Linked DNA regions of Homo sapiens: all the other regions are linked to region 4. Evidence: promoter capture Hi-C in 16 types of primary human blood cells and fetal thymus (Javierre and others, 2016). All regions are on one chromosome and are shown on one strand. Each heading gives the region's core, a stretch centred on a gene start or on the middle of the fragment in contact. The rest is flanking DNA. Distances are from core to core; before and after follow the strand shown.

Region 1 (3,675 bases), core at 19-2,518, 370 kb after region 4:
GAAGTGAGTCAGTCTTGGGATGGAAGAATCTGGGAGCAGGTAGCATTAGGAGAATGAGGGTTGTATTAAGTATTTAGTCACATTTCATCCATGGTGTTCTCTTCATGTTGTACTGATTGAAACGATAAAGCTGTGGATGGCCAAGGTCACGCTGGTCATTAACTGCAGGTTGGACCTGGAACTCCCACCTGGATGATTCCAGTGCCAGAACCTGACTTCCCTTGGAAATCCAGCTACTTACTATTCCCCAAACCTCCCACCTCCACTTTTTCACTACCCTTGGCTTCTCCTCCTTCTCTCCTTCTTTGAATTATGTCATCATTAATTCCTTTGTACTTTTTCCATGTCTCAGCCCCTGCCAAAGGCCCTTATTCCCTTCTCCTTGGACAGTTGTGATAGCCTTCTTCCTGCTGGCCTTCCTGCCTCTAAGCTGTGCTAAAGGGGAGGTGGATAGTTGAGATGGTTATTTACAGAGAAAGGGAAGGACAGAAAGCAGGGCTCCCAGGATTCTCTATGGACAAATTCTGTTCTCTTTCAGCCACTTGTATCAGTGAGGCATCTTAGTGAGATAAGAGAGACAGAGAGACAGAGAGAGAGAGAGAGGCAGATGCTCCTTCCTGATGACCATGGCAGGCCGGCCTCAAATCCTGACTCAGCCATTCCCCTAGAAGCTGGTTTTTATGAACCATTTGGTGGACTATGTATCAACAGGATCAACAAGAAAAATACAAGTTAATGTTGCATATTATAAAGAGATAAATTTTAATGTAGAAAACTTCTATAGGTGATGGAAGAGCCAAGAAGCCAGGGAGGCAATGGTGAAGTGACTCAGAAATCGGCAATTAGGGTAACAAATGGCCAATGGGGGCTCCAGGCTGGAGGAACAAGGGCAGGAGATGGAACTGCTGCAACTCAGGGTCACTTATGCAGGCTGGAGCCCTGACAGGGAAGGGAAGTGCAGGGGGAAGGATGGAGGGTGGAGGAGAGGAGACAGGGAAGAGAATTTCTCTAGAGAACTCTGCCACACTGGCCGCTTTAACTCACTAACACCCACACACAACTGGCTCAGCTCAGGGCTGCTTGTTTCTGCTCACCAAGGAGCCCACCAGATGCTCTTTGCTCAGGGGGTTTTGACACATGTGGGGTTCCAGGGCCCAGGCTGCTTCAATCTTGTTCTGCCATCCCCTAGGGCCTCTAATGGAGAGAGGAGAACATTGACTGACACTGAGGGCCTGGACTTGGAAGTGACAACGGTATTCCCCTCACCTTCAGTGGCAAGAGTGAGCCACTTGGCCCAGTGCAAGGGGGCTAGGAAGTCCCTTGCTGAGCATCGCCCTGGGCAGCGGCTCAGCACTGTGTGAGGAGAGTGCCATCCTAAGGGACATTGGTCACCTCTGCCTCATGGCTTAGATACTATTTTGCTTGTGAAGGAAACCAAAATATTTCATATATATATATATATATATATATATATATATATATTTGGAAATATTTAGAGATAGCTATTCTGAGGGACTGGAAATACAAGAGTAGCAGAAAAGCTGTCCTTCTTGGGAAGAGCTGTATCTGTGGAGAAATTCTGCATCCCCCTTCTTGGGGTAAACAGAACTTACAGTGTCTTTTATCTAGTCTGCCAGGCTGCCTGGTTGCTCCCTCAGGAATAACCTCCTATGTGTCTGGATCATATAAAACTGTCTGCAGTTGCTCAGTGTTGAGATGTGGGTCCCACATCAATCCAAATGTATGCTTTTCTGCTCTGTAACATTTAAAACCAAAGATACTGCCCCTAAATTGGTCACTCTTGTAATCCATTTTAGTAAAGATGTCTCAGGAAGCTGATATTACTGATCTACAAAATGGAACAATTCCTTCACACTATACCATTTGGTTTCAATAGTTAGTTGGTTCGCCCTTCCTTCATATTGATTATTTTCTTGGTAACCACAAGTCTCAGAGGTACTTTCTGTTGTTCCTGCATAATATTTTCCTTTGTTGTTGACTTTGAGGCTAGAATCCTGAGCTCAGATGGACCACATCTGAGTTTGATCCAGCTTCAAGTTCTGACTCAGCACCCTCTTTTACTTTCATTTTAGCCATTATAGATAACAGTCACCAAAAGATTGAATATTTTTTTTTTCCTTATTAGTTTGCATTTCCTTATGTATCCAAAGAAACAATTCCTGGAGAGTAGGATCCATCTCTAAATTCCATTGGTAACTTTCACCTTTAGTAATTGATCTCAACATAGCTGTGGCTTTATAACATGGGTGACCACCTGGCTACCCAGGAATCAAATATTCCTCATCCCCCACTCTTTTATCCTTTCTCTTCCCAAGCCACATGTTTCCATGAGTCAGTGCCATTCCAATAAATCCCACTTCACTCACCAATTGTGTAGAGAAAAACTTTTCTCAAACTGCATGTTCCCTCCACTCTCACACCACATTAGTGATCAACACAGAAGACTTCTGTGACCAAATGTGTGGGTATTTTTTTTCCCAAACACCAAGGAGAAGACAGCAGCTAAGTGTCCTTTAATTTAGTTCTGACACTGTCTACTCAGAGATAGTGTCAGATCCCACAGGTTGAAGGCTCAGTCTCTGAGACTGCCCCTCTATACACACCAGTTGCAAGTCCAGGCATCTGGAACTTCTGACTGACCAGCTTTATGTTGGGGTTCCCATGACCCTCTCTTTGGGTTCAGTTAATTTGCTGGAGTGGCTCACAGAATTCAGGGAAACACTTATGTTTACTGGTTTATTATAAAGAATATTGCGAAGGATACAGATAAAGAGACACATAGAGGAAGGTATAGGGGAAGGGACATGGAGCTTTCATGCCCTCCCTGGGTGCCACCCTCCAGGAACCTCCACTGTCTAACTGTCCAGAAGCTCACTGAACCTCTTCCTCTTGGGTTTTTATGGAAGCTTCAAGAAATCAGCATTCATTCCCCCAGTGTATAGTATGGGACCTTCTCATGGGAGGGTCTTAAGATCCACAGTCAGAAAGACAGGGGAACATTAGAGTAAAAGGAGGGCAGGAGAAAGTAAGAGGCCTGTCCCTGAGGCCTAACACACCCAACATTATGAGAAAAGACTGTAACAAGGGCTATGGGAGTTATGATCCAGGAACTGTGGACAAAAACCAATGTATATCATAACACCACACTGCCAAAGTAAGCTTAATAAGTGAAGGAGAAATAAAATCTTTTCTAGACAAGCAATTGCTAAGGGAATTCATTGCCACTAGACCAGCCTTACATGAGGTCCTTAAGGGAGTTCTAAACATAGAACTCAAAGAATGATACCTAATACTATGGAGTTGGTTCCTTTCAGTGAGTTCTTGGTCTTGCTGACTTCAAAAATGAAGCTGTGGACCTTTGCGGTGAGTGTTACAGCTCTTAAAGGTGGCATGGACCCAAAGATTGAGCAACAGCAAGATTTACTGTGAAGAGCGAAAGAACAAAGCTTCCACAGCATGGAAGGGGACCGCAGCAGGTTGCCGCTTCTGGCTGGGGTGGCCAGCTTTTATTCCCTTATTTGTCCCAGCCCATGTCCTGCTGATTGGTCCATTTTACAGAGTGCTGATTGGTCCATTTTACAGAGTGCTGATGGGTCCATTTTACAAACCTCTAGCTAGCCACAGAGCACTGATTGGTGCGTTTTTACAGAGCAC
Region 2 (3,561 bases), core at 538-3,037, 420 kb before region 4:
TCTAGGTATTGATGCTAAGAATCTCATGTTCTATTTTTGTGACAGGTGTGCTTAAAAAGTAACTTTTTCATTTCAAAAGAACTAACAGTATCCTCCCTGCAATTTTTTAGTTTCAAAGGAGAAACTAGAAAATTCTTCTCCATGAAAGTTGGTTAGAATTGACTAAGCACTTGCTATGATTGCTAGTCATAAACGGGGACTTAAAAGCAATACTCAGCCCAGTCCTGATGATGTGCTGGAGAATGGACAAGCCCCCTTGGGGAACAGAGAGAGAAACAAGAGATGGAAAGGGTGGTGGGCACATTTCACGGCATCCGAATAGACAGATCAACAGAGGCAAGGGAAAGACGGAGCAGTGTGTGAGAAGAAAGGCATCCACTGATGCTGAAGCAGCCACCCTCAGGTGAGCCAGGTGAGGCTGCAGGAATTGGCATCTTCATCACCTGACAAACAGAGAGAATTCTGGAAACACCCCTCTCTTACAACTCAGCTGACCTCCTAAAGACAAGGCCACCGTGCAAGCTCCTCCCATGCGCCCAGCACACTGTTAGGCCCCAGGGATCCTACTCAATTCCCAAAGCAATCCTGTGAAGCAGGAAACGGGAAGTCCATTTTACAGATGAGAAATCAGAGGCTGAGAGAGCCTGCACTAACATTAACGATTTTTTTTACAAGCCTACTGAATAGAATATCTGAAATTTAAACCAACCTCCCTCCACTCCAAAAAAAGATAAAATTCTAATCCTAGTCAATCACTTTTTATATTTCACAGATCAACTATCTAGATCAAGACACACACACACACACACACACACACACAAACTCATATACACCTCACTCACTCTTCAGAGACTATTAAGTGCTTTGTGCTTTCCTCCCTAACTCCTAAAATTATTCATTATCAGGAACAGACCCTTGTGGTGTCACAGCCGCTGCAGTGATGGTCACAGTTTTTGTTCCGTTTCTTAAAGCTAGTGCATTTCTATCCTCACAGTTAGTGGATCGGGTGCTGTTCCTAGCATGGAGTCTTCAGTTCTCCCACACACCCATGGTACCAGCAGCCCCATCGGGGTCAGGAGCCATGGATATGCCAGAGGTCCTGCCTGTGCCTGGACCACCACAGGGAACAGGTAGCTTCTCCAGACACAGCCAGGAACCATCCTGTCCCTAGGTCACCCTCAAATGACTCACTTGGGGCCGTCCAGCTGAATCAATTCACCATATCCAAACAGTCCCAATAAGTGGAGGCTTATTGGAATGATGTCTGCAGCTGCAAGTGCCCATGGTGGGCTCTGACAACCACAGCCCAGGGAAAATGCTGAAGACAGAGAGGCTTCGGTTTCAAAAACGAGTGCTCATCTGCAGGCAGTCTCCTGGAGGGGTCTCAAGGACTATGCCGAGTGAACACTGCCAGACTCAAAGGGCTCGACTGTACGACTCCACATAGGTGACATTCTGGGGTGGAGACACTGTGTCTGGACACAAATGGGTGTGGTCGGGGCCAGGAGAAGAGTGGGGCTGCAAAGGGTGTGAGGGATGGTTTGGGCAATAGAAATATTTGCGTCTTGATAGTGGTGGGAGTGTCATGGCATAATGTTTGTCAAACTCAGACTACTATATACTAAACAGAGCAAATTTTACTGCATGTAAATTGCATCTCAGTTAAAACAACCGTTGTGAGATCAAGACAAAAATGAGACTCACAGCAGACTAGACCCCAACCTGAGGTGGCTCCTCTTGATCTCCTCCCTTCCTTCCCTCTTCCTCTTTTTCCCCCTCCTCCCTTTCCTCCTCCTTCTCCTCCTCCCTTTCCTCTTCTTCTCCCTCCTCCCCTCCCTCCTTCTCCTTCTCCCCCATGCCCTCCTCCCCCTCTTCAAAGGCCTTCCCTCCTCTTCCTAAATTCCATGAGACAATGGAAACCCTCTCTCCTTGGGATAACGATCATAGTCCCTTTGCGCCTCATTGTCACATAAAGCGTCTTTTGACATTTCCATTGGAGTGATTCATGTGCACACCTTCCCTCCCCTTCTAGAGGTTCTGGCATAATCCAGGCTTGAGTCCTGGCTTGATCATAGCTGTGTGACTTCAGATGAATCACTCCGCCTTTCTGTGCCTCACTGTCCTTGTCTGCAGAGAAGCAACCTGGAGAAGGGGGTGTTTGCTGATATCAGCTCCCAGGACCACTGGGATTCAACACAAAAGGCATGGCACACAGCAGGCATTGGGCAAACCCTCCTTTCTGTGCTTTCCCCCTCTCTGGTCAAGTGAAGAATTCCCAGAACTCACAAGTGATTCATGTGTGGACCCTCTGGGTGCAGAGCTGAGGGACAGAGGAGTGCTCCATGAACATCTAATCAGTGAGTACACAGAACGCAGGTCCACTGACCTCCCGTCTCGAGAATTACACTGAGGAACTGTTCTCTAATATAAAGCTATGGTGAAAGATGGGTTTAAAAAAACGTATTCAGAAGTTCCCTAAGTCATTTTTTGATATGACTGAAATTGTCCCAGGCACCAACTTTGCTAACCATCCACCCAGTGCGACTTTATGGCCAAGCTGCCCAGCTCAGGATCTTACCAGCTGTAAAACAGTTTTCCCATCCCATACTTTGTTTGTTTCCTCGGTGACTGACAGCAATGATGGCAAAAGCAGCAGTAATAAGCTAACTGGGCAACCACTGTCTTCCAAGCACTTCGTACCTATTGTCTCATTAGGCTCAAACCAAACCCAGAAGGGGTATGGATTCTCCTCTGCTTAACCCACAAGGTTAGGGGGATTGCAAGGGACCGAAGCATGTCCAAGTTTCATGGGGGGAGGGCTAAGGGTTTTCTGGCAGATTGTGTCATGCACACCCAGGGTTCCCATCACTGCATCACATGACCTCCCCTCAGCAGTGAGAGAACATTTCTCCTGGATTTGCTAGGTCAACTGACACATGAGCCATGGCACCGGCGCTGGACTTGTGAGTTTTCCAGCAGACCATTCAGTTGATGGGTCTGGTGCTGCACAATGTGGAACAGCCAGTGGGGGTTTCAGTGCTGGTGAGGACAGGTGCTAAGGGACTGCCTGGATTTCAGGCTCCGGCGCATGGAAGAGTCCATCACCAAGCCAGGAGGGCTGAAAACTAGGCTGTGGCCCAGAGCACAAGGCAGGGTTGAATGGGGTTAACAATGAAGCAAGGGGCATTCTCACATTTGCGAGGAGGGGAGGTACGGGTAGCCCGGGCAGTGTCCCAAGGGTACCTGATCCCTGGAGGCCTGGTAGGGGCTGCAGACACCGAAAGACCTTCCCAGTCAGGAAGCGATATCTGAGCCAAGAGGTTCCTTCTCAAGGGGCGTTGTATTATCTTACCCATAGCATATGCAAAAATCACTCTCGTTTTTTCCATGTGGACATTTATAATTAGAGCATGTATAACCTCTCACTCAAACAAGGTCTGCTTTAATTTTATTACAATAGAATTCTGACTCTTTGCTAATTAATGATTTTTGGAGTTTTTATTAAATCATTTTCTATTCCACAGAAAATTCAAGAGCTAAGAAATGAGGACTACACTTGGG
Region 3 (3,996 bases), core at 14-2,513, 470 kb before region 4:
ACAGTGACTGAACCAACAGAAATGTATCCCCTCCCAGTCTAGCAGCTGGAAGTCCAAGATCAAGGCATTGGCAGGGCTGGTTTCTCCCGAGGCTTCTCTCTGCGGTGCACAGATGGCCATCTTCTCCCTGTGTCCTCACATGGTCTTCCCTCTGTGTGTCTGTGTCCTGATCGCCCCCTTCTACAGGGACACAAGTCATGTTGGATGAGGGCTCACCCTAAGGGACCCACTTTCACCAGTCACCACTGTAAAGGCCCTTTCTCCAAACACTCACATCCTGGGGTTCGGGTTAAGGCATCATTCAACATAGGAATGTGCAGGGGGTGGAGGGAGTCACAATTCAGCCTAACACGAATTGTGTGTGGTTTGGGGAGATGCAGCCCCTCTATAAATGGCAGGAGAGTGACATAGGCCCTACTTCAGAGTTCTCAGGGAATCTGCCAAGTTAGGGCATGAAAGGTGTTTACAGCAGGGCCTGGCCCCTGGCAAGCACTCGAAAGATCCATCGCGACGAGGAAGAAATGAAAACTGACATGAGGCATGTGGCTTTTGAGGAGACCACACAGACTTTCTAATGTGTCCCTTCTGACTCTTGGAGCATGGGAATTCTGACCAGCCTGAGGCAGGACTCCAGGAGGAGCCAATTGTGCCAGAAAACCTGCATCTCATGGGGCCCTGAGCCAGCCCGAGGAGGGAGATGATGCGGCTTCACCCGCCTTCCTTCTTGGTCCCGATTCTCCTCTCTTTGTGTTTTTGTTTCACTAAGGTTTCCGATTCATACCATGCCTAATGGGTAGGCTACTCACTTTGCTGATGCAAGGGTCTCATTCTCAACCCACTGGTTTTCGGTGGTACCATTCTCCTTCAGGCTGGCTCTATGTTCTTCATGGGCAGCGTCTCCACGGTCATGCACCATGCCACTGGCTTCTGGACCCCGAAGGTGCTATGGAGCCCAGCTCCATTCCACTGAGTCCAAAACTCACGAATACAGAGGCCACCAGCACTACTGAAATGCCAGCAGGGTGTGTCGGCATTTGGAGGGCCTTCCAGCAAAGCTTTGAACATGCTATAATTGCTCCAATATAACAAGTGATGTTCCAATTAATAAGATAATTTACAGCAATCCACAGTCTCTGCCACAGGTGGTTCTCTCTCCAAGAGGGCTGTCCCGGGACAGAACTGGACAATGCTTGAAGCTCTCATCTGTCCCTCTGCCCATAATTACTCCTGTCTCATAGGAAATAAATTTAAGAAATAACCATTGTGCTCTGAGGGGAAGGAGGGAACAAACACTTGGGAGTTCAGAAAGACCTTCGCTCAAATAGACCAAATTGTCCTGATTTTACTCTACATTGTTTTCTTCCCCCAAAGACCATCCACTTAGAATGCACAACACAATATAAAAGACCTCCTTGTCTACAGCACTCAAGCCTCTCTCTAACCAGCAGTTCAGGGAGGGGGACCCACTGCTGAAGCTTCCCTCCTGCCCATCATCCACCAAGGTTTTCCTGATGATGAACATTCACTGAGGACTTCCCGACCCTCCCAGCTGTCCTGGAAGGAGGAGTCTCATTGGCATTCTACAAAAAGATTAAAGGCTAAAGAACTGTAAAAGCATCAAGCATCCCTCAGAACTGGTCCCTCAGCCCCAGGACCAGGGTCTGGGTACATTACATAGCCTTGACCTATAGAAGGAAGCTGATGCAACAGCAAAACCACAAACCAATGGGAAAGCACATGAGAGTGAAGTAGAACGGGCAAAAAAAAAAAAAAAAAAAAAAAGCAAAGGCCAGGTGCAGTGGCTCACGCCTGTAATCCCAGCACTTTGGGAGACTGACGCAGGCGGATCACGAGGTCAGGAATTCAAGACCAGCCTGACCAACATGGTGAAACCCCGTCTCTACTAAAAATACAAAAATTAGCCGGGCGTGGTAGTTCATGCCTGTAATCCCAGCTACTCAGGAGGATGAAGCAGGAGAATCGCTTGAACCCGGGAGGCGGAGGTTGCAGTGAGCCAAGATCGCGCCACTGCACTCCAGCCTGGGTGACAGAGTGAGACTCCGTATCAAACAAACAAACAAACAAACACACACACACACACAATCAAAAAAACAACCCAGTGAAATGAAAATTAACAAACATACCCTAGGAATGGAATGTTATGATTAGAAAAAGAAAAAAGAAAATGGTTTGTGAAAGCCTGTATATGACGAACATAAAACTGAGGGGAGTGCCTAAATATTCTAAGTTGCTGATAATATTTACCATGAGTCGAGTGCAGTGCTCAAGCTGGAAGGACTGGAGACCCCGCAGAATCACAGAAGCCCTACCCGGGGCATGAAGCCCTCTAAAGCCCTCAAGAGCAGCCTGCCTCCGCTCCCTGATTCCCTCTTACGGAGGCCCTCGGTGGCCACGGACCCTGCTCTATCTGGCACATGGCCAGTAGCACACTGCTGGAACCGTGTCAGAGGTGAGGCTGTGTCTCATTCACTGTCACATCACCAGGGCTTCCTACATAGGAGGCCAGCAGGGAGGGGTCCCCTGCTGAGGATTCATTGCATGGTAGGCACCCCGTCTCCAGCCCACCTGCAGCTCTGCACACCCTGGGCCGACCATGCAGCCAGTCTAGGGCTGGAGGTACCGCTCCTCGAGGCCTCATGTGCCCAGTCCCCAGTTGCTTTTTCTCACGGAGCCACATTTCTGAAATCTGTGCATACCTTTTCACCCACAGTGCATCCTGTTTTACCTGGCACTGTTTTCCCTATCTTAGTGTCATATAAAATGACAGCTTTTCTGAGAATCCACCTATCTTCGAATCTTCAAAAGAAACCCAAACCAAAGAGGCCAGAAAGAAGTGGCACATGCTTCCGGTACTGAAAGAAAAGAACTGTCAACTGTGAATTCTATATCCTGCAGAAATACCATTCAGGAATGAAGGAAAAATAAAGAAATCCAGAGATGAAGGAAAATGAAGAGATTTTGTTGTTTGCAAATGTCCCAGTAGGGAATGGCCAAAGGAAATTTTCTAAACAGAATGAAAATCATAAGATTTGGAACTTCCAAAAGGAAAGAAGAATGTTCAAATGAGTCAAAGTAAGGGTAAATATAACAGTCCATTCTTCTCATGAGTTTCTTAAGTCACTTTTTATAGTTGGAGCAACTAGCAGACATCATCACATGTGGTACTCACCATAAACGGATAAGATACTTCCAACAATTGTACTTTAAAAATGGGGAGGGTGAAGAAACTTAAATTGAAGTAAGATTTCTATGCTACGCTCCAAGTGATAAAATAATACAAGTAGCCATAAATAATGACAAGTTATGTATATACCAAGAGCGAGGACTAAAAAAACTACAGGGAGGGATATACTCAAAAATACTATCAATAAATAAAGACAGAGTTTCCCCTAAATGATAAATAAATCCACAGTAAGGCAGGAAAAGAGAAACAGAAGAGCAGAAGACAGGAAGGAAAAAATCCGGAAAAACGTATGCACCCGGATTTTCTACTAAGAATTTATTTGACATTGACATCCTTGGTCCATCTGGAACTGATGTTGGCATGTGTTATAAAAGGGATCCATTAACCTTTTCTACCTGGCAAACCTCAGCTCTATTTATGAGGCAGCTCCTCTTTCCCCTCCTGACCTGGCTGCCTGTTTTGTCTGGCACCAAAGTTCCAAGCATGTGCTGGTCTGTTTTGCACTTTCATCTGTTTGTTGGTCAATTTATCTGTCCTTGTACCAGCTCATGTTTACCGAATTTTCTATCTTTGTGGTAAGTCCTCATTTCTAGTAGTTGTATACTGGCTACTGAGAATTTTTACTTTATTATATAAATTTTGAATCAGCTTATCAAGTTCCACAAAATAATCTGCTGGCACTCTGACTGGAATTAAATTAAGTACACAGATGAAATTGGGAGGGTCCAACATGTTTGTGACATTGTCTTCCTATCCACAAACATGGCTTTCTCTCCATTTATTTTTATCTT
Region 4 (3,556 bases), core at 135-2,634:
GTTTTAGCAAGAGACTGGCAGCATTTTGCCCCACCCTAGAGATTTGTGGAACTTAGAACTTGAGAGAGATGATTTTTAGGGTATCTGGCAGAAGAAATTTCTAAGCAGCAAAGCATTCAAAAGGTGACTTGGGTGCTGTTAAAAGCATTCCGTTTTAAATGGGAAATGGAACATAAAAGTTAAAGAAATTTGCAGCCTGACAATGCAGTGGAAAAGAAAAACTCATTTTCTGGGGAGAAGTTCAAGCCAGCTGCAGAAATTTGCATAAGTAGCAAGCAGCCTAATGTTAATCCCCAAGGCCATGGGGAAAATGTCGCCAAGTCATGTCAGAGACCTTCACAGCAGCCTCTCCCATCATAGGCCTGGATGCCAAGGAGGAATAAGTGGTTTAGTGGACTGGGCCCAGGTTCCCCGTGCTGTGTGCAGCCTAGAGACTTGGTGCCCTGTGTCCCAGTTGCTCCAGCCATGGCCGAAAGGGGCCATTGTACAACTTGGGCTGGGGCTTCAGAGAGTGGAACCCCCAAGCCTTGGCAGCTTCCATGTGGTATTGAGCCTATGGGTGCACAGAAGTCAAGAATTGAGGTTTAGGAACCTCAGCCTAGATTTCAGAAGATGTATGGAAATGCCTGGATACCCAGGCAAAAGTTTTCTGCAGGGGCGGGGCCCTTATGGAGAACTGCTAGGGCAGTGTGGAAGGGACCTAGTGGAGCTGTGAGAAGAGGGCCACCATCCTCCAGACTCCAGAATGGTGGATCCTCTGACAACTTGCACTGTGCACCTGGAAAAGCCACAGACACTCAATGCCAGCCCATGAAAGCAGCCAGGAAGGAGGCTGTACCCTGCAAAGCTACAGGGGCAGAGCTGCCCAAGACCATGGGAACCCACCTCTGGCATCAGCATCACCTACATGTGAGCCCTGGAATCAAAGGAGATCATTTTGGAGCTTTAAAATTTGATTGACCTGTTGGATTTTGGACTGGTATGGGGCCTGTAACCCCTTGGTTTTGGCCAATTTCTCCCATTTGGAACAGTTGTATTTACCCAATCCCTGTACCCCCATTGTATCTAGGAAGTAACTAACTTATTTTTTATTTTACAGGCTCATAGGTGGAAGGGACTTGCCTTGTCTCAGATGACACTTTGGACTGTGGACTTTTGGGTTAATGCTAAAATGAGTTAAGACTTTGGGGGACTTTTGGGAAGGCATAATTGGTTTTGAAATGTGAGGACATGAGATTTGGAGGGGGCCAGGAGCAGAATGATATTGTTTGGCTGTGTCCCTATTCAAATCTCAACTAGAATTATATCTCCCAGAATTCCCACATGTTGTGGGAGGGACCTAGTGGGAGGTAATTGAATCATAGGGGCTGGTCTTTCTCATGCTATTCTTGTGATAGTGAAGAAGTCTCACAAGATCTGATCATTTATAATGGGTTTCCACTTTTGCATCTGGATCATTTTTCTCTTGCCACCACCATGTAAGAAGTGCCTTTCACCTCCCACCATGAACCTGAGGCCTCCCAAGTCATGTGGAAATGTAAGTCCAATTAAACTTCTTTTTGTTCCCAGTTTTGGGTATGTCTTTATCAGCAGTATGAAAACAAACTAATATATCAGCCATGAAGAAAGTGAGTATTCAGTGTGCAAACGCCTGGTTTGATTTGTTTACATGCATGTCTGGGGTGACTGAACTCAAGTAATGCACCTAAGGCTCTATGTTTTGGATAGAAGTTTGGGTTTGATAGCAGGCACCAAAAGCAAATGACTAACTCAGGGGACAGAATACAGCATGTCTGTGTCCTGGGGAAGACCATAAACTCTGTCTTTCCAACTGTACAGGTCACTATAAGGATATAGTGAGTTAAGGCAGGAGAATGTGCTTGGTAATCTGTAAAGTGTTTTAGAATTGCACGGGAAAATTCCATGAGTTCCACTATGATTGAGACTAATTTTGTGGCTTTGCAAGGAGATTTGGCATGGAAACATACTCATGCTTTGATAACTGAAAGCAAAATTCTGCAATGAAACCATCATCTTGAGTGTGTGCTATCATGCTCAGTAATCCAAGATCTCACAGCTTACGTGATTCTCAACCATCTCAGCCTCTTCCAACTTTGGTGTTTCCAGTCTCAGAAAGGTGAGGACCTTTTCCCACATATAAGCAGTGACATCTTTAAGTCTCACAAAAGATTTACTTTGAAAAGATTTTCTTTTTTGGGGTAAAGTCATGAGAAAACCTCTCAGCTAGGAAAAAGAAAAAAATAAAGACAAATTTCATGTTAGCAGCCTAAATAAAGAGCTTTGTTAACGTGATAAACTATGCAATGGAGATTATATCTGATGATGCTACTTTACGAGCTTTTGGTAAAATAGTGATTTCTTGGTGAAAAAAAGCAAAATCAGGAAAATACCTCTCCTGAATTGAACTAAATGGCAGTAAGATGATCTCAGCAATGGAAATTCATTGTATTATAAAGGTTGTTTTCAGTATCTAACTTTGGAGACTGAGATTATCAACGCGATGTGCATGCCCATATGTAAAGTCTGTGTCTCAGTTTCAGTGTCCCCTGGTGAACCATTCTGAGCTGTGGGTGAGCCTCAGGAGAGAGGCCTGTGCCTGTGCCTGGGAGACCAGAAAGGGTCTTGGGCTCAGCAAGTTGTTGTGCCCTCAACATGTGCTCTATAAGCCTCCAGGTGGTTTATTTCTTCACTGCAGGCTGTAAGCTGTTAGCTCAAAAGCCTACTGGTAACAAACTCGAATTTTTACACATCCAATTGTTTAAAAAATAACCCAAACAGGGCTGGGCGCAGTGGCTCATGCCTGTAATCCCAGCACTTTGGGAGGCCAAGGCAGGCGGATCATGAGGTCAGGAGATTGAAACCATCCTGGCTAACATGGTGAAACCCTGTCTCTCCTAAATTACAAAAAAAAAAAAAAAAAAAATTAGCTGGGTGTGGTGGTGGGCACCTGTAGTCCCAGCTACTCGGGAGGCTGAGGCAGAAGAATGGCGTGAATCCGGGAGGCGGAGCTTGCAGTGAGCAGAGATTGCGCCACTGCACTCCAGCCTGGGCGACAGAGCAAGACTCCGTCTCAAAAAAAAAAAAAAAAACACCCAAACAAACATTTTAGCCATTTAGAGCCTGTCAGCTTTACACACCCTGCAAAACCTCAGGGGACAGCTGTTACCCACTGATAATGTTATAAGGCCCCAAGCTGCTGCTGGCTTCAGGAGCTTTCTGACCCAGAGCCTCCCCTCCATGCTGCTAAGCAGCATCGTCTAAGGGGTAAGCTCTCTCTCTGCTGCCCCTCTCCCCTGAGATCGCCCTTGCTCTTCTTCCTTTTTGGATGGTTCTTGGCCCCTACGCTGTAAACCTGTGGACAGTTTCATAGCATGAAGTATGAGGGAGTTCCCCCACATGGAAACACTTCAAAACATTACCCAGATAAAGCTTGTGTGTGTTATCATCTCTTGTGGTCATATGTTTGTTCTTGATTGGTCCCCAAATCCCTCGAACCCCTCACAAAATTTCAGAACTCTGCAAAGATGCTCAGGAG
Region 5 (3,927 bases), core at 364-2,863, 400 kb before region 4:
AACCCTGCAGGAGTGCAGCAATAAGATCAAACGCACTTTGGAAGCCCCTCTAAGGGAATCCAGTGTGCTCAGTGAGAAGGACATGGGAAGAAAGTTTAAAGATGTGCACAGATGCTAAAGGAGGTGGGTTAAGTGAAAAACTCAGGCTATAAAACAATGCACAGGCTGATCCTACTATGAGAAATTACATGATATTTAGAAATCATGCCAAAAATACACCAATGACGAGTGCTTCATCTCTAGACAGTAAGATGGCGGTAATTATTCCTTCTTTTTGATAATTTACATCTTCAAAAAATATTGATACAAGCTTAAATGTATGTAAAAGAAAGAAAGAAAAGCATAAAACTCATTCCATTGAATCAGGTACCCCAGACACGCCAGACAGCACGTGGGGATGGAGGGTCAGGAGGAGGGGATGCAGATTTGAGGAAAGGCTCCGTGCTTGTCTGTAACTCAGGAGCTGGAATTCTCAAGAATACTCAGGCAGTGGTTCAAGGGAAGGTTGCTGAGATCCAGTTTTGGGAGAGGACTCAGATTCCGTGTGGCGGGTTCTGGGCTAAGCATCCGGATACCAGTCCTGAGCTCGCTCTGAGTCCTCCCCTGTCACTCCACCTCCCTGGGGGTGCTCATGGGCTTCAGATATCATCGAGGCTGCAAGGGATGAACCAGGCACTGGGAGGAGGCTGCACTCTCACCCACTATATCCCTGAGGAGTCTGGGCATGACTCTGCCCATAAAGGGGGTCTCTGCTGCTTTATGAAGCCTGGAAGCAGTAATGACAAAGCTGTGAATCTGGCTGCAAAGTGTACCTGGCTGCCTTGGCGCCCTATCCGACTCCTCACCCTCCTGTCTGGGAACCACTCTTTCCCGGGTGTCCTTCCCACTCTGCCCTGTCCTTCTCAGTTTCTTTCCAGAACTCCTATGCACCCACTCCCAACTGGCTCCATCTTTTGCATGGCAATGCCAGACCTTCTCTACTCGCCCCTAGACCCAACTCTCGGTGACACAGAGTCCCGAGTGCATGCCCAGACCATCACCTGCATGGCTCCACCACCTCCAACCACACAATCCATAGCAGTCTCCCACCTGCTCACACCACTGGCTCAGAAGATGCTGCATGAAAAATACACCAATGGGAATTGTGATTTGTAATGTCAGGGCCTTAGATATTTAAAGTTCAAATTGCTTCTCTAATCATTCATTCAAGAAACACGCATTGAGTATCTGCTATGGACTGAATATTTGTGTCCCCTAAGATTCATATGTCAAAACCTAATCCCCAGAGTGATGGTATTAGGAGGCAGGACCTTTGGCGGTGCTCAGAGCATAAGGGTGGAACCCCTATAAGTGGGATTGATGCCCTCAGAAAGGAGGCTCCAAGGAGCTCCCTCTCCTCACCACCACGTGGAGACACAAGAAGGCAGGAGTTGGCAACCAGATGACAGCCCTCACCAGAATCCGCCAGGCTGGCTGCCTGATCTTGGACTTCCCAGCCTCTCAAAGTAGGAGAAATACACGCTTGTTGTTTAAGACACCCAGGTTATGGTCATCTGTCAAGGCAGCGTGAATGGGCTGAGAGGGCCTCAAAGTAAAGAAGTATCTCCCTCTGCATCTTCAGGAGACACTGCGGTGGCTGAGAGTCTTTAAGACTGAATTCTGTCTATTTCACCCAGTGATAACGGCAAGTCCTCCACATGTATGGATCTATACACACACGCTCACACACATAATTCCACAGATTCTCCGTAAAGTTTCATGTAACCCCTAAAGGATGGTGAACACTCAACTGATTTTCTGTCTATATGTTTTCTACATAAAATCAACGTAGGTCCTTCACCACCTGTGAGTGACATGCTGCAGGCGCCCAGCTTTCAGTTCCCTGGTTGTGACATGGGAAGGATAAAGCCTGCCCCGCAGGCAGGTCACAGGCTTAGCTGGGAGCCAGCTTGGGGACAAGAGCGGGGCACCCAATGAGGGACTGAGCACAGAGCTGCCCTCCAGAGCATGCTCCTCACAGGAGCTGGGGCTCCTCCACACTGTCCACCGGACTTCACTGCTCCCCTCTTACGGCATTGGCACAGAGAACACCCACCTGTGTTTTAGAACCCCTGCCTCCCTCATGGTCAATAACCCTCCAGGCTCGCCCCTCCCTTGGCAAGCAAGGAACCTCCCAGCATCACGAGAATGACCTTTCCACAACTCGCCTCCCTGTTCTCCATGAGACTCGGCACAGCCACTGATTCATCACCTCAGGACAGAGCGCTGCTCACTGGCTCCCATGCAGCAAGGGACCTCTCTGGTAAAATCCACTCGCCTCAGCCTGGAATTTAGGATGCTAAGTCAGCTGTCCTCAGAGTCCCCATCCAGCTCTCCAAATTAGCCCCTTTCCCCATCTTGCCTTGCGATGATTATTTACACACTTCACCAGCCACCGCTTCACCCTTCTCTCCTCCAGTGGAAAACATCACCATGTGATGGACAGAATATAGCTATGCAGATGCAAACAGACGTTACTGGAAAAAGAGCTCTGTGATCAAAAAGTTTGATAACTGTTGTTTGATAAATCTTATGAAATTATTCTCACAGCTTTAAGATTCCAGTGTGCACTGTGATCTTTTGAAAGACAATGTATCATTTTGCAAGAGTTTTCAGCTACATTTCTTTTAACGTGCTGGTTATCTGGAAGGACTGGTGTGCTGAATAATTCACACCAGCAAAGAACACTCTGTTTACTTTACAGGCCAGAGCAAAGCTCTCCCCGTCCACAACTTGCCCACTAGCCCCAGATATCATCTGTGTTTTAATGTCCTTACCATCAACATTCCATCTGTGGGTCTCCACCTCTGGTCTAGGTGTATTTGGGTTGCAACAATTCCTTGAGTTGAAATTCCATCCCACAAGGCCTATGAAGGAGCAAGCTTTTCCCCAGGACAACAGAGAGGAGCCATGTGCTGCCCTGGGACACACAATTGGTGTCCTTTCTCACTAACCACAGACACCCCCTTCCTGGAGTCATGGGAAGCTCAGCGATCCACAAAGATGAGGCGCTACTGCAGTTCTTTCCACAACACTTGCTTTTAGCTATTTTACATCTGGATGTAACTAATCTGACAAAAAGTGTTTTAATTTCTTTCCCAAAGCAAGTCTGATTCTCAATCGGTGGTTGAAAAAGACAAGGGATCAGCATGACATGCTAGGAAAAGCCTCAATTCCCCTCCTTTGAAATCAGCCTCCAGTTGTGTCTTGTGGAGATTCCAGCACACAGCTGCCCCTTCCTTCCTTTCCTCCTTCACGCTCCTAGCTATGACCCAATGTGCATATTACACAGGTGAACAGAGGACATGTTTGGGTGAGACGGTTTCACGAAAACAGAGATTTAAATGATACAGCCATAAATCAGGAACACTAGACTAACAAGCAAACAGAAATTAAAACAAGATGTCTGTTGCATGTGGGGCCGTACAACAGTAGCTAGTTTGGCTGTGGCCAGCGCTTGGCATCCCCATATGCAAAACGGAAGGGACGGAAGAAGGGGGAACGGTCCCTGGCATTATACATACACACAAGTTCAGGCCAAGGAGCTCCTGGATATAACTTCACTGACAGCTCATCCACCCGTTACAGCTTCACAAAAAGCCCTGACCCAAACTCACCATGCCTTATTCTCACGAAGACCCTCAAAACTCACAACTGTGTCACACGAAGGTGTGATTCTGGACCTCTGAGAAAACAGGGGAAATTTTTTCTTCTTAGCAGACTGCAAAATACTTCAGATATTTGAGTGGGCTGTCTTCCCTGTGCCCTTTGCCTCCATAACTGCACACAAGATGAACACACGCACCTTCTCCATCTGCACTGAGGTTCTCGTACGAGTCCCAGCGTATCAGTGGGTCTGTTGTGTTGTAGTCCACAATCACACCGTGG
Region 6 (3,855 bases), core at 781-3,280, 430 kb before region 4:
ATAAATTAGCAGTTCCCCTGAGCCAGCACTCAGGCCGTTAGGGTCACACAGATCAGCCCACTCCCAGTGCAGCTTAGGCAGAGCTTCTGGGGACAAATGAAACACCCCAGAGACCTGGTGATACCAAATGACTTTCAAGCATCAGTGGGGAAGTTCCCCAGCAAGTTACAGAGGTGCCACAGGACCTAGCAACCCCTCTCCTGGGTAACGCCCCAAACAACTGAAAGCAGGTGTTCAGACAAACACAGGCACACCCATGATCACAGCATCACCATTCACCGAGGCCAAAGGTGGGAACAACCCAAGTCTCCATCGAGAGAGGAATGAATAAACAAACTGTGCTCTATCCCAGCTGTGGAATATTACTCTGCCAGGAGCAGTACTGAAGTTCCCACATGGGCTGTAACACGTCCGGCTCGAAAACATCACACACCACGTCACAGGAGCCAGCCACAAAAAGCACATACTTTGTGATGCCATTTATGTAAAATGTCCACAGTAGGCACATCCCCAGGGACAGGAGGGGATGAGTGAGTGCCAGGGGTTTGGCAGGGAGGTGTGGACAGGAAGTGACTTCAGGGGGTATAAGGTTTCCCTTTGGGATGACGACAAATTTCTGAAACTAGATAGTCATGATGGTTGCACAGCAATGCAAATGTCCTTACTACCACTGAACAGTACACTTAAAAATGATTAAAATGCTAAATTTTATGTTACATGTATTTCACCACAATAAAAAATTAATGAGTATTTTTTAAACCTGAGGGATGATTTCTGTTTTCTACTGTGGGCCGGACCAAAGATTTTCATCTCAAAATTCATATGACTTTATTGTGAATTACTTTCTTTTTATTTTTCCTTTGACATGAGTGTTAGGGTGTTAAATTTAGTTTTCAGTATGTGCTTAAGGAGGTTATATTCGCTATGACTTTCATCTCAGAAGAGTAAAGATGGCGCTAGAAGGTATCTGTTATAGAAACGATACTTCATTTTGGGCCTGAACCAGTGAAGGTCCCTTGATGTAGCTATCACGGGCAGTGTGGACTGAGCAGAAGGTGGGCTGGAATCCACACCTCAAAGTCCCAGAAGGCCCAGATAGCACCTTCTCCTCTGTGGCCCTAGCCTCTCAGCAGTGTCTTCAGAGCGCCCACCAAGGTGGTAGGGTGGGAAACCAAGGCCCCCTGCTTTGCAGAGTGAGAGTATCTGGGGCAAATGGAAAGCTTCATCAACTCTAAAATTTCAAAGTTGGTTTTATGCAATAAAAAGAAAGTAATTGCAATGGCAGTTTCCCCAAGCAGACTGGAGTTTCTCATTCTAAAACGTTTTCCGAATTGGACACCCACAGAGCTCCCTGCAGTGCAGTGGGCTGACTCGGTTATTAAATGTGCACTCACATACACATGACCTGTTCATACCCACGGCCCTAAAGCATCGGGGTCTGAAGGTGGAGAGGAGCTGTGTCTAGTCCTGACCCCTGGGCAGGAGTCTCTTTTCAGAGTTCTCAAGGCACATAAATATCCCATCTCTCTCAGAAACCTCCAGAGACTGAAGCTCACAGATGGAGAAAAAGCCTTGTTTTGCCAGTGGTAGCAAACAAAGAGCAAGAGTCCCTCACGGACGCATGTCCAGCGCCCGGGGCCCTGGCTCCTTGGCTCCCAGACCTCCTCTATCCTGGTTCTCTGATGTGAGTACCAGGAAGTCCCTTTATAAGACCTGGGTCCTAGGACCTCACTCAGCTCCCTGGAGGGGGTGGTGGCCAAGGGAAGCATCTCAGAATAAAGGTGACCCTGGGCTGACTGAGACCATCCAGAGACAGCCCCCAAAAGGCAGAGGTGCTGCCATCAGCCCTGGTCTCTTGCTGACGCCTGAGTCCTTGGAGGGCTCCAGGAGTGTCTATGCCTGGTGCTGCGGTCACTCCTCCATCCTCCACCTCAGATGCGCACGCTGCTGTCTTCCCCCATGCTCTGAGGGCCCGGCACTGGCAGGATGATGCCCATAACTGGGCACTGCTCAGTTATAACACACAGTACGGAAATAACGACACCTGGACTTTTAGAAAGTACCATGGATCCCCTGTGTCCCTAGCACGGATCTGAAACCCCCATACCCAGATCACTAATAGCCAAATTCAAGGCCCCTTCATTCTTCCAATGTCCAGCTGCTACGGGCGCAGGCGCTGGGGCCCACTTGCTTACTTCCCTCCCTCCCTCCTGAGATTCTTCCTCTGCAGAGTTGGAGGCCAATGCCACCCCATGGAACCCCCATCCTGCCTAAATGCTATCCTCCATTGTCTCTGGGACCCTAATAGAGCTCCCAGGCTCAGTGCACCTTCTCAGTGCCTTCTCTTCTGGTAAGACAGTAACCATGCCAAAAAAAAAAAAAAAAAACAAGCAAGGGCCCAGCCCAAGACCCCAAGGCTCGCCTCTGCCCTCAGGGAAGAGCCACACTCCTTGGCCCCCATCCTGGCCCTCCATGGTGGGGCCTATCTGCATCTCCAGCCTCACTCCCCAGCACTGAACTTCCCTGGCACACTATGCTTTCTCCCGGTCTGCCTCTCCTCCAGACCATCTGCCTGGTAAGGATCCCTCTGCCTCACAAGGCCTGGCTGAGAGGCTCTGGCTGAGCACCCCCAGCACGTTCCCCAACTCTGGAGTTGAAATGAGGTGGGACTGTCTGCCTGTCTCCACTTTGTGAGGCTGTGAGCCTTCTGCCACGGAATCAGAGCTTGCAGATAAGCTGCTTTCTGAATCCTAAAGCGCTCTTCCAGCTTTCACATTTGGTTCCTTTGGTTGGGGTTTAGCACACAATTTAAATCAACGGGCTCTCCATGGTCAATTATTAAAAGCTTACAGTTTCCATTGCTCTGAACTTTCTTTAGGATGCACAGGTTATCAGCCATGGGTTAGCACTAACAGAGCAGATGCCGAGTCTGGGAGGGACATTAAATGCCTGGTGGGAATGCCACAGCACTATCTGCAAGCAGAACAGGGCCTGCCAGGTTGCTGTCATCACAGGGTGGAGGTTGATGTAACATGAATAAAATATTTTGACAACATGAAGCAAAGAGCCCTCAAGGTATGAAAAAAAACCACAGAACTGGCTTTTTGCCACCCACGGAATCATGAATTTCACAGGTTGAGTCATTTCTTTTGTTACTGGGATATCATCAGTTGAAATATTCTCCCACTTAAAAGGGTATGATACAAAAAACCCACCACGTGCAGGCTGAAACCAGGCTGAGACCCAGAGTGGGGCGGGGACAATGAGCCTGGCAGCAGCACCCAGGGGCTCTTCCACAAAACACCAGTGGCAGCAGAAGTCAGACCAGAGTGAGGGAGCAGGGCCTCATGGCTGGCAGGCACTTGTGGGGAGTAAAATGTCCCCAAACCAACTCCCTGAATCTCACCCATTCTACAAGAAGGATACAAAACTGTGCTCACTGGCACACAGAGCACCCAGGTCTCAGCCACCAGAGCTTTGTGATACCCCACCTCTGGAGGGCCTCTCTCTGATCTTGTAGGTGGGCAGGGCTACTCTACACTGTCCAGCGATAAATCTCCCCTCAGTGCCCATTCAGCAGAGTAGTTCAGGTCTCAAAAGGATCATTTGCAGTTCCGCCTGTCCCAGACCCCTGTATTTGCAAACATATGTCGAACTCTTCCTGCATGCCAGGGAAAAAAAATAATGAGCACTTCCCTCAACAGGTTTACTGGCTGGTGTAAGAGTGTGAGTTTAGTGGAATTAGGACATAGCCATGGGGTGCAGAGTCAGAGAGACGAGAGCTCTGTTACGTGTCCTGGTGAAATGAAGGTACCTAAAACAGTGTAGGCACTCAGAGTAACAGTTCTTACTATT
Region 7 (3,736 bases), core at 1,233-3,732, 500 kb before region 4:
CTTACCATACAATCCAGGAATGCGCTCCTTGGTATCTACGCACAGGAGTTGAAAACTTATATCCACTCAAAAACCTGCACATGGGTGTTTAGAGCAGCATTATTCATTACTGCCAAAACCTGAAAGCACCCACAATGTCCTTTAGTAGGTGAATGGGTTACTAAACTGATACACCCAGACAAGGAAATATTTGCTGCTAAAAAAAAATGAGCTATCAAGCCATAAAAACACATGGAGGAAACTTAAATGCATATGACTAAGTGAAAGGAGCCAACCTCAAAAGGCTATGAACTGTATGGTTTCAACTATATGACAATACTGGAAAAGTTGAAAATATGGAGACAATAAAAATATGAGTGGTTGCTTGGGGTTGGTGGGGGAGGGAGAACGAACAGAAAAGGCACAGAGGATTTTTAGGGCAATAAAACTATTCACTATGATACTGTAACGGTGATTACCTGTCATTATGCATTTGTCCAAACCTGTAGAATGCATGACATCAAGGTGAACCTAAATATCAAGTCCCTAAACTAGGGACTCAGGTGACGAGGCTGTGTTAATGCAGGTTCATCAACCATAACATGTGCATCACTTTGCTGGGGGATGTTGACAGCGGGGAGGCTATGCGTGTATATGGTGTATCTCTGTACCTTCTTCTCCATTTTGCTGTGAATCTGTCACTGCTCTAAAAAAGAAACTCTATGAATAATTTTTTTAAGTGACCTGCTCTGTCTGGCGAGCTGGTTCTTGGGTGTTGTATGTCTCACTGGGGTTGCTGGCAGTGTGGGTCAAATCATTGACTCATGTCAAGTGACTTGTTGAGTCATGTCTCTGGAACATTTTTACATTTACAGTTGCCGAGACAGATCACCCACATCCTGTCTTACTATATTTTCCCCCAAACTAAATCCAGGGCTTGACATTTATTCCACTGAATTTAGTCTTGCTTGAGTTAGACCGGCCCATGAAGGCCTTGCTGATGTCCCAACAACTGCACCCCACCCAGCTCTGTGCAAGCTTCTATAAAAGGAAACCTCCTTCAAGGCTCACAGAAAAGAAAGGAAACCTGAATACTGAAGTGCAAAAGGAAGTTGTGTCAGTGAGTCCTTTTTCTCCCCAGTCACCAGATGTAGAAATGGAGCTGCATTTACTGACCTGCCCCCTGCTTCAACAGCTCAGCTGCTGAATTGGCTGCCGTCTGGGGAGAACTTTCTGCTATTTCCTCCAATGGATCTGTAGGAAGGGGCAAGAAAATACAGAAATGAGTCCTGCTCCTGACCAAGAATCCTCATGACAAAGTTAGACAATTTGATGACAGAATTCCCAGATGGTGACATGCAATGGTTTTGCAGAGTCAAGAGTTTCTCTTTGGGACAATAATTTGGCCCATAGAAACCATGATCACATTCTGAATAAAAGTAGAGATGACAAGGCCTAACAAAATATTTTTCTAATCACCGAATTAGTCATATGAACAATGACACTTTGAAAAGTAAATCACATTTACCTATATATTAAGTTAGACCATTTTTATGTGAAGTTGTGACTGCTTAGGAAAGTGGGACATACGGTCACATCGCCCTGACATGCTGTGGGTGTTATTTAATTTCATTATGGATATTGTTTAACAAACATAAAAGTAAAAAGAACAGTGCATCCATCATCTAAGTTCAACAACATCAACATTTTGCCCATTCCGTAGAAACGTAAAAATTAAATGTCAATGACCCTGAAGCCTTCTTTGTCTGAGGGTTTTATATTTTTAAACTACAGAATCTTTGCTCTATAGAAATCTTTCATCAAAATCCATGATGTAAAGCTATCTGGGAGCTGTCAGTGAAGTAGAATCTCCTCTTCTCTCCTTAATTTGGATGAACTCATTGGCCTTTTCTTGGGTTCAACCAAGAGAATACGAAAAAACTTCCAGTCTTATTATTTTTCTCAGTGGATCTTCATGGATCTCTAAAACCGGTGGCCTTGACTGCAGACAATCTACACAGAGCCTGACTAGCACTGAGGACCCCTTACCTCTCTCTGGGATAAGCAGCTTGCACGGCAAGGCCAAGGGCGTGATGGAATGCTGGCACACCAAGGCCGTCAGGCTCCCTGCAAAGTGGACAGACAGCAAACAAGAGTCAACAACTGCTGTAGATGTTGTGTGCTCAGCCAATTTATCAGCTGGAATGAAACGGATGCAAAGGCTGAGCCCTTATCTTTTTAGCAACTGGTATGTTAGATTAGTGTGCAGCTTTGTGTAAAACTTCAAAGAAGTATAAAGTTCCACAAGATAGTTGAGAGGTAAGTAAATGGAACTGTTTATCATTCTTATCATAGACACATCATTACCAAATTATATAAAGACTAAAGCATACAGTTTGTTGGATCTTGAATCAGGAGGGTTGACATCAAGCCAACTCCAACTTCAACCATATATATTACCCCTGCACAATGCTTCTTAACAAAGCTCTAATAACAATGATGCCTAAGGCTGCACTGTGCTTTGTGTGGATTGCTCAAGTCATCTTTCCAACAAGCTCGTGAGGTAGGGAAGGCTCCCAATTTGCAGGGAAGGGAGGGTGCTCTGTTGGGAGCTCTATGTTGTTCCTTGTGCTGTGGGATAGGGTCATGCTGGAGCTCCAACCTTCTCAGGACTTACCTGCCTGCCAACTAGGATAGAATCTTATTGACGTCTGTAATTCCTACGTCTGATATGGTGCTTTTCATTTGTTTGGTTTTGACAGAGCTTTTAAGAACAACTTCAAATCTAGTTTATCTTAAAGATAATAATGCAGATCAGCAGGATTTCAGAACTGGGGACTGAAATATGAGTAAACCACCATAAGAGTGATAGTCCCAAATCTCAGGTTGGTGAGCAGAGGGAATCCAGGCCTCATGAGTTCAGAACATTGACAGCAACCTCTCAAGCAACTCACCGAAATATGGTTCATTCGAGCACCCTTTCAACCGCACTCCCTTCGGGGTACACTCGATCAAAAAGTGCCGGACGAGTTCATTGGCCAAATCTCCAGCTGTGGCAAGAAATTTAAAGAAAGAAGAATTTTTTGAAAATGGGAGCATGGGAGAATTCAATAGAGAGAACATAAAAGCCAGGAGCTACAGTTGAAAAGGCTCTTCTCTGAATACGAGTCCAGTCACTGCAAAAGAGGCTGCCAAGAACCATCTTCGTCCTAGGAATGGTAGCCGGGCTGCAGGACAGCTGGATGAGCACAGGCTAGGCCAGATACAGGGCGGGAACCCTTGCAATGACAGTGTGGGGGCTGGAGAGGTCCCTTGGGAGAGGCCCTCAAACATTGTGCAAGAATCCCCAACGAAGGGAATGAGCTTGCAGCTAAGAAAGAGGATCATGAATCTCCAGCTGAATCCTCTCCCAAAGAGGAGAGGTGAGAAAGGCTCAGACACAAAATGATACCTATAATGAATCACTGAAAAGAGCTGGAAGGAGGTCAGTCTTCTGGGTGGGATTTAACCAGGAGCCTGGATCTTTAAAACCTTCCAGAAAGCAAGCACTCAGCTGCACGGGAGCAGCACTCTACCACATTGCTATTAACAGTAAACAGTGCATCTGCTTTAGGCCAGCCCATGAGTCCAAAGAGAAAACACATCATAAAAAGCCACTGAATGGCAAAACTATCTGAGAGTGGAAAAGTACAAACAGCACAACCAAAAGAACAAGAAGTCACTGCCCTATGCTAATGAGTCCAACAGACCTTCACAG

What was found. Contacts are between HindIII fragments. The CHiCAGO score rates a contact against its expected background, and 5 or more counts as called.
Region 1: a contact is called between a fragment that was not itself captured here and the fragment with the promoter of PKD1L1-AS1 in region 4, in 1 of 17 cell types (M1 macrophages). The highest score is 5.3, in M1 macrophages.
Region 2: a contact is called between a fragment that was not itself captured here and the fragment with the promoter of PKD1L1-AS1 in region 4, in 1 of 17 cell types (naive B cells). The highest score is 7.3, in naive B cells.
Region 3: a fragment that was not itself captured here is called in contact with the fragment with the promoter of PKD1L1-AS1 in region 4 in 2 of 17 cell types (naive B cells and total B cells); the score reaches 6.1 in naive B cells.
Region 5: a contact is called between a fragment that was not itself captured here and the fragment with the promoter of PKD1L1-AS1 in region 4, in 4 of 17 cell types (total B cells, M0 macrophages, M2 macrophages and 1 more). The highest score is 14.7, in total B cells.
Region 6: a contact is called between a fragment that was not itself captured here and the fragment with the promoter of PKD1L1-AS1 in region 4, in 2 of 17 cell types (naive B cells and total B cells). The highest score is 8.1, in naive B cells.
Region 7: a fragment that was not itself captured here is called in contact with the fragment with the promoter of PKD1L1-AS1 in region 4 in 7 of 17 cell types (total B cells, naive B cells, M0 macrophages and 4 more); the score reaches 12.2 in total B cells.

Annotation. Positions count from the first base shown.
Region 1 is chr7:48,159,589-48,163,263 of GRCh38, forward strand. No RefSeq gene overlaps it. Among named protein-coding and RNA genes, the nearest start is that of ABCA13, 10 kb to the right of the region's middle. The HindIII fragment of the contact is 3,313 bases long and covers 1-2,925 here.
Region 2 is chr7:47,375,936-47,379,496 of GRCh38, forward strand. All of the region lies in intron 16 of TNS3 (tensin 3), which reads right to left. Among named protein-coding and RNA genes, the nearest start is that of SNORD151, 87 kb to the right of the region's middle. The HindIII fragment of the contact is 9,574 bases long and covers 1-3,561 here.
Region 3 is chr7:47,320,455-47,324,450 of GRCh38, forward strand. All of the region lies in intron 20 of TNS3 (tensin 3), which reads right to left. Among named protein-coding and RNA genes, the nearest start is that of SNORD151, 140 kb to the right of the region's middle. The HindIII fragment of the contact is 420 bases long and covers 1,054-1,473 here.
Region 4 is chr7:47,793,907-47,797,462 of GRCh38, forward strand. It overlaps PKD1L1-AS1 (PKD1L1 antisense RNA 1), which reads left to right and starts at 1,385. Exons shown (of 4, transcript NR_161269.1): 1 at 1,385-1,537. PKD1L1 (polycystin 1 like 1, transient receptor potential channel interacting) reads right to left here. Exons shown (of 57, transcript NM_138295.5): 55 at 2,083-2,244. The HindIII fragment of the contact is 8,231 bases long and covers 1-3,448 here.
Region 5 is chr7:47,392,956-47,396,882 of GRCh38, forward strand. TNS3 (tensin 3) reads right to left here. Exons shown (of 31, transcript NM_022748.12): 16 at 3,845-3,927. Among named protein-coding and RNA genes, the nearest start is that of SNORD151, 70 kb to the right of the region's middle. The HindIII fragment of the contact is 2,611 bases long and covers 309-2,919 here.
Region 6 is chr7:47,358,838-47,362,692 of GRCh38, forward strand. The region is part of intron 17 of TNS3 (tensin 3); the gene reads right to left. It overlaps LOC124901629 (a long non-coding RNA gene), which reads right to left and starts at 2,368. Exons shown (of 2, transcript XR_007060319.1): 1 at 1-2,368. The HindIII fragment of the contact is 1,625 bases long and covers 1,219-2,843 here.
Region 7 is chr7:47,290,800-47,294,535 of GRCh38, forward strand. It overlaps TNS3 (tensin 3), which reads right to left. Exons shown (of 31, transcript NM_022748.12): 25 at 2,934-3,029; 26 at 2,029-2,106; 27 at 1,156-1,233. Among named protein-coding and RNA genes, the nearest start is that of SNORD151, 170 kb to the right of the region's middle. RefSeq lists enhancers at 681-1,040, 2,264-3,463. The HindIII fragment of the contact is 2,934 bases long and covers 1,016-3,736 here.